Linked DNA regions of Homo sapiens: regions 1, 2, 3 and 4 are each linked to region 5. Evidence: promoter capture Hi-C in human tissues and cell types (Jung and others, 2019). All regions are on one chromosome and are shown on one strand. Each heading gives the region's core, a stretch centred on a gene start or on the middle of the fragment in contact. The rest is flanking DNA. Distances are from core to core; before and after follow the strand shown. Region 1 overlaps FCHO2 (FCH and mu domain containing endocytic adaptor 2). Region 2 has its middle 18 kb from the start of TMEM174. Region 3 has its middle 16 kb from the start of TMEM174. Region 4 overlaps FCHO2 (FCH and mu domain containing endocytic adaptor 2). Region 5 holds the start of FOXD1 (forkhead box D1).

What was found. The method cuts DNA at HindIII sites, captures the fragments that hold promoters and counts their contacts. A contact is called where the count stands out against the background at its distance.
Region 1: a contact is called between a fragment that was not itself captured here and the fragment with the promoter of FOXD1 in region 5, in 2 of the 25 tissues and cell types used here (IMR-90 fibroblasts and hippocampus).
Region 2: a contact is called between a fragment that was not itself captured here and the fragment with the promoter of FOXD1 in region 5, in 1 of the 25 tissues and cell types used here (mesendoderm cells).
Region 3: a contact is called between a fragment that was not itself captured here and the fragment with the promoter of FOXD1 in region 5, in 1 of the 25 tissues and cell types used here (IMR-90 fibroblasts).
Region 4: a fragment that was not itself captured here is called in contact with the fragment with the promoter of FOXD1 in region 5 in 1 of the 25 tissues and cell types used here (mesenchymal stem cells).

What each region holds. Positions count from the first base shown.
Region 1 is chr5:73,054,798-73,057,497 of GRCh38, reverse strand. It overlaps FCHO2 (FCH and mu domain containing endocytic adaptor 2), which reads right to left. Exons shown (of 26, transcript NM_138782.3): 16 at 1,391-1,433. Among named protein-coding and RNA genes, the nearest start is that of TMEM171, 64 kb to the left of the region's middle. The HindIII fragment of the contact is 6,677 bases long and covers 1-2,700 here.
Region 2 is chr5:73,189,792-73,192,700 of GRCh38, reverse strand. No RefSeq gene overlaps it. Among named protein-coding and RNA genes, the nearest start is that of TMEM174, 18 kb to the right of the region's middle. The HindIII fragment of the contact is 4,970 bases long and covers 1-2,909 here.
Region 3 is chr5:73,156,040-73,158,782 of GRCh38, reverse strand. No RefSeq gene overlaps it. Among named protein-coding and RNA genes, the nearest start is that of TMEM174, 16 kb to the left of the region's middle. RefSeq lists an enhancer at 2,533-2,743. The HindIII fragment of the contact is 3,303 bases long and covers 1-2,743 here.
Region 4 is chr5:73,004,402-73,007,135 of GRCh38, reverse strand. It overlaps FCHO2 (FCH and mu domain containing endocytic adaptor 2), which reads right to left. Exons shown (of 26, transcript NM_138782.3): 6 at 587-691. Among named protein-coding and RNA genes, the nearest start is that of FCHO2, 50 kb to the right of the region's middle. The HindIII fragment of the contact is 3,172 bases long and covers 1-2,734 here.
Region 5 is chr5:73,447,372-73,450,138 of GRCh38, reverse strand. FOXD1 (forkhead box D1) reads left to right here and starts at 1,362. Exons shown (of 1, transcript NM_004472.3): 1 at 1,362-2,767. The coding sequence starts at 1,777. The HindIII fragment of the contact is 13,220 bases long and covers 1-2,767 here.

The DNA of each region.
Region 1 (2,700 bases), core at 83-2,582, 390 kb after region 5:
ATAATGAAAGTGCTGTAATTACATAAGAGTACATATCCAGCATCTCAACATGCACCTACATGAAAGCACACTATACCTCGTATGATAAAGCCTAGCATTGCAACTGTATGACTCCTAAAAACAGTTTTAAAACACTCAACAACTTATCTTTAAAAAAATGATACATCCAATAAATACCACCACTATGCTCAATTAGTACCTCAAAAGTATCAAATAATTGTAAACTACCTATTTAACTAAGCCTACTTTTACTTGTATTTTACATTAACTCTGGCCAGGCTTGATGGCTCATGCCTGTAATCACAGTACTTTGAGAGGCTCAGGAGTCTGAGTCCAGGAGTTCGAGACCAGCCTGGGAAATATAGCAAGACCCAGTATCTACCAAAAAAAAAAAATTTTGAAAAAAATTAGCTGGGAGACAGGGGCGGGAGGATCATTTGAGCCTGGGACGTTGAGGCTGCAGAGAGCCATGATCACGCCACTGCACTCCAGCCTGAGAGACAGAGTAAGACCCTGTCTCAAAACAGACAAGCAAAAAACCATTAACTCAAAGAGAGTATTCTTAACTGATAGACACAGAAGTAAAAAGAGACCCATGAAACATTGGCTTAACATTTTTTTTTTTAAGAAGAGCTGGCAACATGCCTTCTAGCCTCTCTCTCCCTTTCCAACTTGACACACTTCTTTTTTTGAAGCTTACGAAGTATATTATTTTATAACGTCACAGTCAAAACTGAAGGAAGAAATGAGAAAATTCCCATGAGAATAACCAGCTGAAATACAGATATGTATGAATTTAGGGTTTCATCATTTATTTAGAAGTAGTGAGGCTACCAAGGCCAACTGTGGTTAAATAGATTTTTTTTATTGTAAAAGGACATATTACCAAGCGAGAAATAATTTTAAACTTCTAAAAACTCCAACATTGCATTTGACAGCTCAGAAAACAGGATGATTAACAGAACTTTACTGGAATTAAAACTATAGAGCTAATAAAACTCTAGAAAAAAAGACAAAAGGATACTTAAAATGTAAGTGTGTGGAAGAAGGGATGAGAAGGTGGAGCACAGAAGATTTTCAGGGCAGCAAAAATACTCTGTATGATACTATAATGACGAATACATGTCCTTACACATTTGTCCAACACCAAGAATGAACCCTAATGTAAACTGTGGACTTTAGGTGATTATGATGTGTCAATGCAGGTTCACTGATTCTAACAAATGTACCACTCTGGTGAGAGAATTTGACTGTGAGAGAGACTGGGCATATGAAGGGGCAGGGAGCATAAAGGGAAATCTCTGTGCTTTCCATTCAATTTTGCCATAAATCAAACACTGCTCTAAAAAATAAAGTCTATTTTTTAACAAAATTAAACATGGAAACTTACTCATTGGGTGGAGCAGATGGCTTTGATTTTGTTAACTCCTCATCTAATTAAAAAATTAAAATATGAAAACTTCATAATCTGAGAAATAAAATATTTTAATGAAAAACAGAAACTCTATACACATATCTCAACACTATAACAATTAAAAATTTTGGAATTGATAATGTAAATACAAACAATATTTTAACAAGTTTTCTATTGTGTACATTAAAATAACTGAAATTACAAAACCCTGGTTCCTTCTAATATCTTTAGTAAGAAATGACTTAAGTCAATTAAACTATGATATTCATTAAAATTGCTGTTTAGAAAAGAGAAACTATGGGTTGCAACTTTAAAAATTAGAAAAATGTTTAAATACATAAATTCTAGTTAAGAATTTTAACTGATGAATCATGAATGCATTTTTCAAGTTCTAAGAATATTATTAGTGATTATTGTATTGACAAAAAGTAGTTATTAACTCTTGAGGATGTCATATTTTGAAAAATTAAGAATCTTACAGCAACCTGGAGCAAGTCTCTTTATAAGATAGTTTGTTTTGCTACCTTTTGGATTTGTAATGTGCCTCATTTCACAAGCAAGTGGTAAACAGGGGAATAGCATCATTAATGAAAAACTCATGTTGGTGCATAAGCAATTTTTGCTGCACCTTCATGTTTTCTTTGCATCACCAAGCAATACCTGATGAATGCAAAGTACATCAATATGAGTAACTTCCACAAACTATGGAGGAGTATCACAGTACATGATAACCATTCACTCTACATTCTTCACTTGGCTCAGTTTGGTTGGTTGTTTTGCCTCAGTGTTTATTGTGCTATTCTTCAATATTTCTGCATTTTGCTCTCATCTCCACAACTCAGCACCCTGCATTTATCCTCATTTTCCTCACACCCCCTATCATTAAGCTACAATCAACATTTCTTTAAAGATAAAATCCTTACTTTTATTTTGGTATTTATTATTCATTTACTAGGTCTCTTAAACTCTGTTAGAATTTTTAATAAAACTGATGTTAAAGTTTCTGTTAAGTCTTCTGTTAACAAAATTACATAGCTTTTGAGTGGGCTGCTTCAACTGTTTTTCCCACAACCCTTGTTATTTTTAATGCATGATTCTGCAAAAGGTATTAGCACCTTAGAAAAGTTTTTAGTATAATTTTTAGTATAATTAAATTATAATAGAATTTGTAATTGTGACACAACTTAAAAATAGGTAAAATTCAATATTACTCATCTTATAAACGCTTTCTGGTTAATAAGACAGAGAATGCCAGTGAAACCGTTTAACATTCTGAATCAGAAGTT
Region 2 (2,909 bases), core at 76-2,575, 260 kb after region 5:
AATTTACTAAGAGAGTCTTTAGTCCTAGATCACAGGGAGGGGAGATATAAACAGGACTGCCCATATCACGTGCTAATTATGTCCCAGGCATTATATCCTTTGATTCTCCCAATAAACCTATGCCATAAACAGTAGCATCAATTTCATTTCACAGATGTGGACATTGACACTTTACCGAGGGCAAGAACCTTGCCCAAGTGTATTAGTCCATTCTCCTACTGCTATGAAGAAATACTTGAGACTGAGTAATTTATAAAGAAAAGACGTTTAATTGACTCACAGTTCCACATGGCTGGGGAGGCCTCAGGAAACTTACAATCATGGCAGAAGGTGCCTTTTCACAGTGCAGTAGGAGAGAGAATGAGTGCCAGCAGGGGAAATGCCAGACGCTTATAAAACCATCAGATCTCATGAGAACTCACTCATTAGCTCTAGAACAGCATGGGAGAAACTGGCTCCATGATTCAATTACCTCCCACCAGGTTCCTCCCACAGCACGTGGGGATTATGGGGATTATAATTCAAGGTAAGATTTGGGTGGGGATGCAGCCAAACCCTATCATCAAGGCTATATATAGCACAGTGGTAGAGCAAAACTTTGAGCCCATTTTGACTCCGGAACTTATTTTCTTAATCACTATTCTAGGTCCTTAAAGAAAAGGACTGAACTGGAACCTTACAGTTCAAATATATCCTGCTAAAAGTATTAGTTATCTCCTGATCCATGAAACAAGCACACATCATGGCCCGGTGATAGAGAGCCTGTCAGATCAGGCTGTGGGGAACAGGAAGGAGACCAGGCTCGCCCTGCTGGTTTTCACTGGTGAAGGCAGTAAAATCGGAGATAGACCGGAGCCTGCAATAATACCACTGCCACCATTTATGGAGCGCCGTGCTAAACAGCAGCTGAGTCTCACAGCAACATTAAGAGGCTGGGACTATTAACCCCACTTGTCGGATCAAAGAGACAGAGGCATGACAATTTTCAGGGACGTGTTCACAGCCACTCAGCCAGTCAGGGGCCAAGTCTTTTGGCTACAGGAAATTGGCTGCTCTGCTCCTACTGCCTGTGGACCAGAGACCTGGTGACTGCACATGAGTGTTAGGCCACCCGAGGACCCAGACTGTGAACTCAGCCTGCATTCTGGCTCACCAGGACAGTTTCGGGAGCCCTCTTTGACTATTGCCTTTGACAAGGCTGAAGATGGGCTAAGACCAGAATCCTCAACCAAATTTAAAACTACTTAAGCTTGGAATATTCCGTTCTTTTCTGTGGCTGTAAGTCTCCCTCTCAGCACCCAGAGCCTTTCTCCTGACTGGTGGCTGCCTGCATGGTTTGCCAACGCAGCATCCACTCTGCATTTGTTCCACAAAGCGCTGCTAAGTGCCTCCTTTGTGCCTAACACTGGGCCTTTGGTGGAGATCAGACGGCCATTTGACCTGGGGCCCTACCTTGAGCAAGGATGAGGCCACATTGGAAATGCTGATTTTGCCCATAAACTCATGCTCCAAGTTGTTTCACAGTAATTAAAAATTCAGCAAAGGAAAAAAAATTCCCAGCAGACACCATAGGTGGGAAACCTCTGTGTAGAAGCTGGTGAAAAACCAATCCTCCAGTTCTAATGGCACCTGGATCTGAGAAAGAAAGGGACTTGGACTCCACAGACAGGGGGCAGAGACTTTATGAGTCATCCCGGTGAGGATAATGGGCATTGAAACACGGCTTTGCAAACTCTGAAGTGATGCATGAGTGTTTGTTGGTTGCTATTTTAATTACATAAAATACATATCTAAGACAATATCCAAGAAATGAAGATTAGGAACTAGAGCAGATTAACAGGAGAGAAATCTGGGATCATGTAAACTGTTCAGGAGCCCCAAATAATAGAATGTCTTATTTTTTTTTTTACCCAGTCTACAGGCAACCCTAGTCACAGGAGGCTGGTGTGAGGGCCACTTTCTAGATTTCCTTTTGACATGTCTTTTTTTTCCTAGAAGGCATCCCCATCTCCCTATTGTCCTCTGCTAACTCTTTGCATCTCCACCTCCACCTAGGACTATGAAATATGTCTTTGCAGGTCATACTCAGCACAGCTACAGGGAGTGCCATTCACATCAAAGTCTACATGAATGAGACCACTGGGCCTTAAACTCAGCTGCATGTTGGAAACATTTGGAGGAAATTTAAACATTATTGATGTCTTAGTCCCTCCTCCAGGTTGTCTGATGTAATTGTTCTGAGTTGCATCCTGGCTTGGGATTTTTTTAAATGCCCAAGTAATTCTAATATGCACCCACCATGTTTGAGAACCAGTAAATTAGACTATGCTGTGAATGGTGCCCACTGAGGATGTGTGGTAGATAGTCTGCATAGCCCTTCAGATGAGCCCCGCCCACCCCAGCTGGCCTGATGCAATCCCCAGTGACCTGAACTTGCTAATGGAACAGATCACAGACTAAATACATACCTCTCTGCCTTTTACGTTGTTTTCCCTTGGGTCGGGATTGGGGTTTGGGAAAGTGTAGGGACTGAACTGTGATCCTTTAAGGAATCCCTTACACTTTCTGCATCCTTCTGAGGAATGAAGGAGAGGCAAGGGTCTAATCCTGCTGAAAAACTGGGAATTTTTTCAAGGCCAGTTTTGGAGGCTGCCCAACTCTGGTGCTCTGCCCAGGGTGAGCATGCTGTTTTGATCGCCTGACTAAGAGAGTGATTTAGGCTTTTGGAAGAATCTGGCTCATTTCCCCCGGTACCTCAGCCATTCCCGGCTTGTAAATCAGCCACCTTTAGCAGCTGCATTTTACTTTCCCAGGCCACAAGGGAACTGTGTAGTTTTTACTGAATTAGCAACTTAATTGCACCAAATATAGCTCTAATGCTCCCAAAGAACTCGTGGCAGCTCCCAAAG
Region 3 (2,743 bases), core at 219-2,718, 290 kb after region 5:
TGAGACCCTATCTCAAAAAAACAAAACAAAACAGTAACAAGAATATTGTAGGTGGCGGTGGCGATCATTGCTGTATGGAGTATGGATTCTGTGTCTTTACACCGTATTCTTGCTTGAACTTTCTGATATCCTGGTGAGAAGCAAGGCCTCTGTTTTACAGATGATTAATCTCAGAACAGGAAAGTAGGCTATTTGATTTAGTGGTAGTGCAGGAGGACAATCTGTTTTCCTAAAGTGTTTTTAAAATTGCTCATCCATGAAGGGCAGGCACTGGCAGGCAAGTGATCTGCCTGTGTTCTCGAGCGAGGCTGGTGTCTGCTGAGGTTGGTTGGGTAGGCAGTTTCCTGGGTGTCCTGATAATCTTTAGATTTTTTTCCCCAGCTGCGATGATTTGAATGTTTGTCTCCTCCAAAACTCATGTTGAGCTTTGATCCCTACTGTTGGAAATTGGCCTGATGGGAAGTGTTTGGGTCATGAGGGGATCCCTGATGAATAGAATAATGCCCTTTTTTGGGGGTGACTTCTCACCCTATTAGTTCCCTGTAAAGCTGGTTGTTAAAAGAGCCTGGTGCCTCCCCACTGTTTTTCTTGCTTCCCCTCCTGCCATGTGATCTCTGCACACATGAGCTCCCCGTCTTCCATCATGAGTGAGAGCAGCCTGAGGCCCTCACCAGAGGCAGATGCCCAGTCATCAAAATTATAAGCCAAATAAACTTCTCTTTATAAATGACTCAGCCTCATGTATTCCTTTATAGCAGCAGAAAATGCACTCAGACACCAACTGAACTGAAAACTACCTTGATGGGGCTGGAATTTAAGTCACAGCCACTGCCATTTCCAGCAAATGATAAGGTGAGCCTCCCAGAGGCCCAGCTCTTGGTGTGAGAAGCTTCTGGATGGAGTAGGTCTGCAGTGGGCTTGCTTCTGAGCTCAGGAATTTATGTACTTGTATGTTAGTTTCCACTTCAGAATAACCACACACTTAGAGGCTTAAAACTACATTCATTTATTCGTTCACGGTTCTGTAGGTCAGGCATCCCTCTGTATTATCTGGAGGCTCAGGAAATAATCTGTTCCCAAGCTCATTCAGGCTGTTGGCCGAATTTGGTCCTAAGCAACATAAGACTGAGGTTCCAATTCCCTGCCAGAAATTCCTTTCTGCTCCTAGAAGCCCCCCACATTCCTTCTCACTTGGGCCGCTCCATCTTCAAAACAGCAATAGTGCTGCAAGACTAGCCAAGCTCTTGAGCTTCAAGTCTCTCTGATTTCCCCCTTTCTGCCCTACTCTTCTGCCACAACAGCCATGGAAAGTTATCCGGTTTTAAGGAGCCATGTGATTAAATTACACCCACCCAGATACTCCCTTTTTGTGGGTCCACTGTGCCGTATAACATAACACAATCATAGGAACGATGCCACATGTTCTCAGGCTTTGAGGAATAAAGATGTGGGATTTTTTTTTTTTTAGCGGGGAGCATTTTTAGAATTCTGCCTGCCACATTCTGTTTCTGTTGCTGAGACCCAAAGAGAGTTAGTAAAGGACGAATGAGTCTGCTAAGAGTGACCAGGGGACATGTTTGTCCAGGCCTCATCAACATTGCTAAGCACGTTCAAGTAACAACACTGCAGTGGGTCTTGCAGGCCTTCACATGTCCAATTTACTCTACTGCAGCGGTTCTCCAAGTGGGGGCCCAGAACCAGCAGCAGCAGCACCTGGGAACTTGTTAGAAATATATATTTTGGGCCCCACCTCGACCTACAGAATTAGAAACTCTGGAGATGGGGCCAGAGGTCTGTGTTTTAGCCAGTCCCTTGGGTGATTCTGATGCTTGCTCAGGTTTGAAAACTATTTCTCTAAGGTAGGTCCCCAGTTTCCTTTTCTATGGAAGTAAAAGTTGGGGAGGAGTCAGATAGGTAATCTCTAAAATGACTTCCATTTCTAACAACGTATGATTTGTGAATATTACAAAAAAGATTACACTGTAGAGACCAAAGAATGCACATATATGTCAATTGTGTGTGTGTGTGTGTGTGTGTGTGCGCGCGCTTCCATGCATGTCACGGTTAAGAGTACAGGCTTTGGAGTCTTTTCTACAATCAAATTCTGGCTTCTCCAATCACTAGCTATGTAAATGGGCCAGCTGCTTAGCCTCACTGAGCCTCAGTTTCCTCATTTATGAATGATGGGACCTACATCATAAGGTTATCAGGATCAAGTGAGATCATACAGAGAACACATAGCGTAGTAAGTTCAGTGACTTTCGGCTATAATTACTTCATCCTGTTCAGTTTCTGGAAACTTTCTCCTTGAGTGCTTGAGTCTATGGTGGGGGTAAAGCACCCAGGCCCTTGTCAGGAGGCCCTGAAGGCAGCCCCGGGAGGCACTGCCTGGGGACTGAGGATGAGCTGCTCCTAGGCCTGAAGGCAAAAGTGAACCTTCTCTGATTCCTAGAGTCAGCTTAAGTCCTGTCACTGCAAAGGAAGACATCTTGGTAAAGCGTGTGTATATAATCCCACAGCCACCATGATCTCCTCCTCAGAGATCATACAACCCGAGGCAGAAAGCACGCATCTCAACACCAAGTCGGCTGAGATGTGGAGAGCGGGGCTGGAAACCCTCAGGGGCATTTGCAGAGTTTTTATTATATTTGTTATTATTGGTTTTTGTGTTTCATTGTTGTTTTTGTTTGTTTTACATGTTCAAAGGAACAGAAATAGTTAAGGCCTGGAATAGAGTCAACAT
Region 4 (2,734 bases), core at 91-2,590, 440 kb after region 5:
GTATGTAAGATCACGATAGGTGCTAAGCAGGAAAATAAAACAAGGAAAAGGACAAGAAGCAGGGGCAGCGGAGAGTGGAAATGTTAGGTATGATTCCTAAAAGGCAGCCACCTTAAACGAGGCCTTTAATTAAGGTTCTAAGAACACTACACCAAATATAATTTATCCCAAGCTAATGGATGGCAGACATTTGTGTCTGTCTTCCCTCACTAATATGTAAGTTCTTTGAGACCAGGGATTTTTTGGGTTGTATTGACTGCCGTAGCCTCACTACTAAGTCACTTCCAGTTTTCTTATTAATGCTTCTTAAGCACTGTCTTCATCATGTACCAATGCCCTCAGTTTCCCCAATTACCTTTAAACAGGCTCTTCTGATCTACCTGTATAATTCCTTATGACATTATAATTATTGCATCTTGGTCCTCAATCTCCAAAACGCGACATGTATTTTTAAAACAGCATCATTAACAAATTGAGATTGTGCATTTTAAAACTTCCAACACTAAAAAATTATATGAGAGAAAAATTAATCAATATACACAAATATAAATGCCCTGTTTTCAATCTGAAGCCTTAAAATACCAACCTGAGCTGTTTCTGTCATTTTCTGTTCGAAATCAGCTTTTGCTAATGCATATTTTTCCACATAGAGTTTATAGGTATCTGTAGCTTTCTTAGATTTAACAGCTGCCTGTAATAAAATAAAATAAAAAACTTTTAACTGTGCATTGACCTTTTTTCTTTCCTAATGTAAGTTAATATGAATAACAAATTAAAATACATTTTAAGAGTTCAATATGACATATAACTAACTTTGATACTTGTTGTGAGGCCCTCTTTAGTCTTTTTTTATTGTTGTTGTTACAGTCAGCCAAGAAGTCAGGAAGTAAACACTGATTCTCTTTTCTGTTTGATGGAATGTGCTTTGAAAAGTTAAAATACTCTCATTTTAAATCCCAGACTAAGATTGCATAATTACATTATAATGCTACAGTGTTACTAAGATATGTTAACACACTGTTGGAGAGAAACTTCCAGACAATATACAAAAATGTCACAATACCACCAGAACGTGCTTGACACTCCTTTTCGCAGCTGTGAATTTTCCTCCACCACAGCATACATATATTTCATTCAATGTCTGATTAAACCTATCTATAAACTATAAACCTATCTCGAAAGTTGTGAAGGCTGGTTTCCTTGATGTTTCTCAGCTTCCATTATGCTCCAGCAAATACAGAAACTTGTTTTCAATCTTTGCCTATTTTTTCAAGACTTAAAAAACGAAACTGTTACCATAATAGTATAGTTCTGGTTTTATAAGTTACTTATTTAATTAAAAAAACATATTAAGCAGTACTGTACAACCTATACATAAACAGAAATTGCAATAAAGTAACACAGCCACAGAAGTTAAGGTAAATTATAAGAAGATAGGCATTTGAGAAAGGAAAAGATTATGTGTAGTTTGTAGGTTGAAGCAGATACACAGCTATCAAGAAGCTTGATATTCTCAAAGGCCTGATCAACTTGGATACAGGAAGATGGAGTGATGTGGTTGGACTAAAAAAGAGTTTAAAGGAGATCAAAGAAAGACAAGCTATAGGATTTCAAGATATAAAAATCCCCATTTTCTTGACGAGGTAACAGATGGGTCTGGTATGAGTGAGAAACAGTAGGGTAGGTTGGGAGCTTAAGGAGAACAAAAAAAGTTTCAAACCATAATTGTGGAGGATGCAAGAGCTCATGACTAGATGAATAAAAGTGTTGCTAAGTGCCACTGAAGTCCAAGGAAAGCTGTAAAATACTTAATTTGTTTAAAGCCGATCAGTACCAATATGTAATTATCTTTAGCCATGATCAGGAATCTAAAAACAAAAAACTACAAAGAGAAAACTGGGTTTACCCTGAGGTTTGGGTTTGGTAAGAGGTACATATAGTCCTACTCCCTAAACAAGCAACTTTGTACTCTCTCTAAAATGTAATTGTTTATACTATATTAAGTATATATGTTATGTACTTTCCTGCCTTCTTAAAGAATATAGGATGCCACTTTACCATGAAACATAAACAAAGCTGATTTTGGAGCCAGAAGAAATTCAACTGAAATTCTGGCTCTACCGTTTACACTACTGCCCCTTTATCCATGGGGAATACATTCTAAGATCCCAGTAGATGTCTGAAGCCATGGATGGTACAGACTCTGTATTATATACTATGTTTTTTCCTATACATACATAACTATGATAAAGTTTAATTTATAAATTAGGCACAGTAAGAGATTAACAACTAATAAAATATAACAATTATAACAACATACTGTAATAACATCATATGTGAATACGGTCTCTCTCTCTCTAAATATTCTACTGTACTGGACAGTAGGTAACTGAAACCAAGGAAAGTGAAATCTCAGCACTGCACTACCCATCTGACCTTGTCTTAGAAATTTATACAGTTCTCTCATTACTAAAAAGGGAACAATATCACCTTTTTTTTAAAAAAAGCTGTAGTAGTAATGTAGTTATACAAAATGCTTGGAATAGGGTCTGGCATACAGTTAAATTTAAAAATAAATAGTGCCTGCTTTTATTATGGTTTCTAACAAGAAATATCATCAAGAAAACACATCATGATATTTTGCTGTAATATAAAGATATATCCGAGTTACTGAGTTGTATTGAGCTGCCTATCCCTAGCGAAAGTGACTAAAACCCGTAACAATTTTCTAGTT
Region 5 (2,767 bases), core at 113-2,612:
AACTATTAGGATTTTTCCACTAGCCAAAATAGCTCGTTTGAGTTGGTGATAAAGATAGGTATATTTAAAAGAGCATCATATCTTAATTATTTCCACTATCTTGTCACCCGAAAAGAAAACTGAATTGAGCGGAACTTTAATCTCATAAAAAAAATTTTCATCTCACCAGAAAGGATTAACAATATTTAAGGATTTTCCAAAAACACATTTTTAAAAAGTTTATCTTAAAGTCATCTATCATTATAGTTTCTATTAATAAGCCTCAGTAGAAATATGTATATGTTATGTAATTTAAGTATTTTGAGATTACTATGCAAAGTGCTGACTAGAATGTTCCTCCTACTGAGAACTATATAGCCCCATTATGAACGAACTTCTGTTTTTTTTTTTTTTTTTTGAGGCGGAGTTTCGCTCTTGTTGCCCAGGCTGGAGTGCAGTGGCACGATCTCGGCTCACTGCAACCTCCGCATCCCGGGTCCAAGCGATTCTCCTGCCTCGGCCTCCCGAGTAGCTGGGATTACAGGCGCCGCCTACTAATTTTTTTCTATTTTTAGTAGAGACGGGGTTTCACCATGTTGGCCAGGCTGGTCGAACTTTTTAGTAGTTTCTAGGTGCAATTTTTGTGCGTGTATTTGGGTTTTCACTAAAAATTTCAATTTCTTCTCCGAATTCAATTATTACGTTCTTTATTCCCATGACATTTGTCAGATCGTCTCATTAGAGTGGCTTAGTTTAACTGTCAAGTCTCTAGGGCATTCAATCGCAGAGAAGTGAGTAAAACGCCAGTCTCACAGCGTTTTTATTAACAGATGGCGGAAAACAAACGTCTTTGGAGTAAAACCGAAGAGAATGGGTTAAAGGGTCAATAAACAATTATTATCGTGCTTAAATTGGGGGGCTTCGCATCAGATCCAATGGGGGGCCGCTCGCCCGATCTGGAGGGGCTGGACACCCCCAACCGACCCCAGAGCGTCCCCCAGGGGCCACCTCAGAGGATGGGGTGGTTATCCCCCGGCTGGAAGGCTCCTACAGGCTGTCGAGGGGTCAAACCAGAGTGTCGCGGGTGTGCTTCTGAGGTTAGGGTGGAGGACTAATTGAGGAGGCTGGGAAGTCTAACTCGTGCAGCGGCCCTCGGTGCAGACAGCCGCGTAATTCGGGCATCAGCCTCTTTGGCAAGAAATAGTGAGGTCCCCTCTCCTCCCCACTCTTCTCAGCTGCTGCCTCCCTCCTACGGGTGAATTTTCTCTCCCGAGAAGGGCTGATTTCCTAGGCTTGCTTTCCTTCCCTCGGCAGCGCTCTGACGTGCACACCATGTGACAGGCCCCCTTCTGCTATAAGCCGAGGAAGGTCCGCCCTCTCCTGGACTCAGCCCTGGCCTCGCCGAGCTCTGTTCTTAGACTCTCACCCGTCCCGCACGTTCCTGGGCGCCTGGCGTTCTGATTCGCCCGCCCGGGCCCCGCCACCCCCTCCTCAGCTGACGGGGCAAAAGCTGCTCCGAGAGGAGAAGGTCAAGTCCTCCGCCCGGGCCGGGCGCGAGCGGAGCCCAGGGAGCGCAGCATCCGCGCGGCTACCGCGGCGGCGCAGGAGTTATAAAGTCGGCGCGCGAGACTCCGCCGCCACCCGGCAGCCCCGGCGCAGCTCCGGCAGCCGCAGTCGCAGCGCCCCCAGCGTGGCGCCCCCCGGCCGGGCCTGCCGCCCGGGACCCGGGCTGGGGCGCAGAGGGAGCCCGGAGCCCGGCGCCCCCATGCGCCGCCCCGCCGCCGCCGCGCCACAGCTATGACCCTGAGCACTGAGATGTCCGATGCCTCTGGCCTCGCCGAGGAAACAGACATCGACGTGGTGGGGGAGGGCGAGGACGAAGAAGACGAGGAAGAGGAGGACGACGACGAGGGCGGCGGTGGCGGGCCCCGGCTGGCTGTCCCCGCGCAGCGGCGGCGGCGGCGGCGCTCGTACGCCGGGGAGGACGAGCTGGAGGATCTGGAGGAGGAGGAGGACGACGATGACATCCTGCTGGCCCCGCCTGCTGGGGGCTCCCCGGCGCCCCCGGGCCCGGCCCCGGCGGCGGGGGCAGGAGCCGGTGGGGGCGGCGGCGGCGGCGGCGCGGGCGGCGGCGGGAGCGCGGGTAGCGGCGCCAAGAACCCGCTGGTGAAGCCGCCCTACTCGTATATCGCGCTCATCACTATGGCCATCCTGCAGAGCCCCAAGAAGCGGCTGACGCTGAGCGAGATCTGTGAGTTCATCAGCGGCCGCTTCCCCTACTACCGGGAGAAGTTCCCCGCCTGGCAGAACAGCATCCGCCACAACCTCTCGCTCAACGACTGCTTCGTCAAGATCCCCCGCGAGCCCGGCAACCCGGGCAAGGGCAACTACTGGACGCTGGACCCGGAGTCCGCCGACATGTTCGACAACGGCAGCTTCCTGCGCCGGAGGAAGCGCTTCAAGCGGCAGCCGCTGCTCCCACCCAACGCCGCGGCCGCCGAGTCTCTGCTGCTGCGCGGCGCGGGAGCCGCAGGGGGCGCGGGCGACCCGGCAGCCGCCGCCGCGCTCTTCCCGCCCGCGCCCCCGCCGCCCCCGCATGCCTACGGCTACGGCCCCTACGGCTGCGGCTACGGCCTGCAGCTGCCGCCTTACGCGCCGCCCTCGGCCCTCTTCGCCGCCGCAGCGGCCGCCGCCGCCGCCGCCGCCTTCCACCCGCACTCGCCCCCGCCGCCCCCGCCACCGCACGGCGCGGCCGCCGAGCTGGCCCGGACCGCCTTCGGCTACCGGC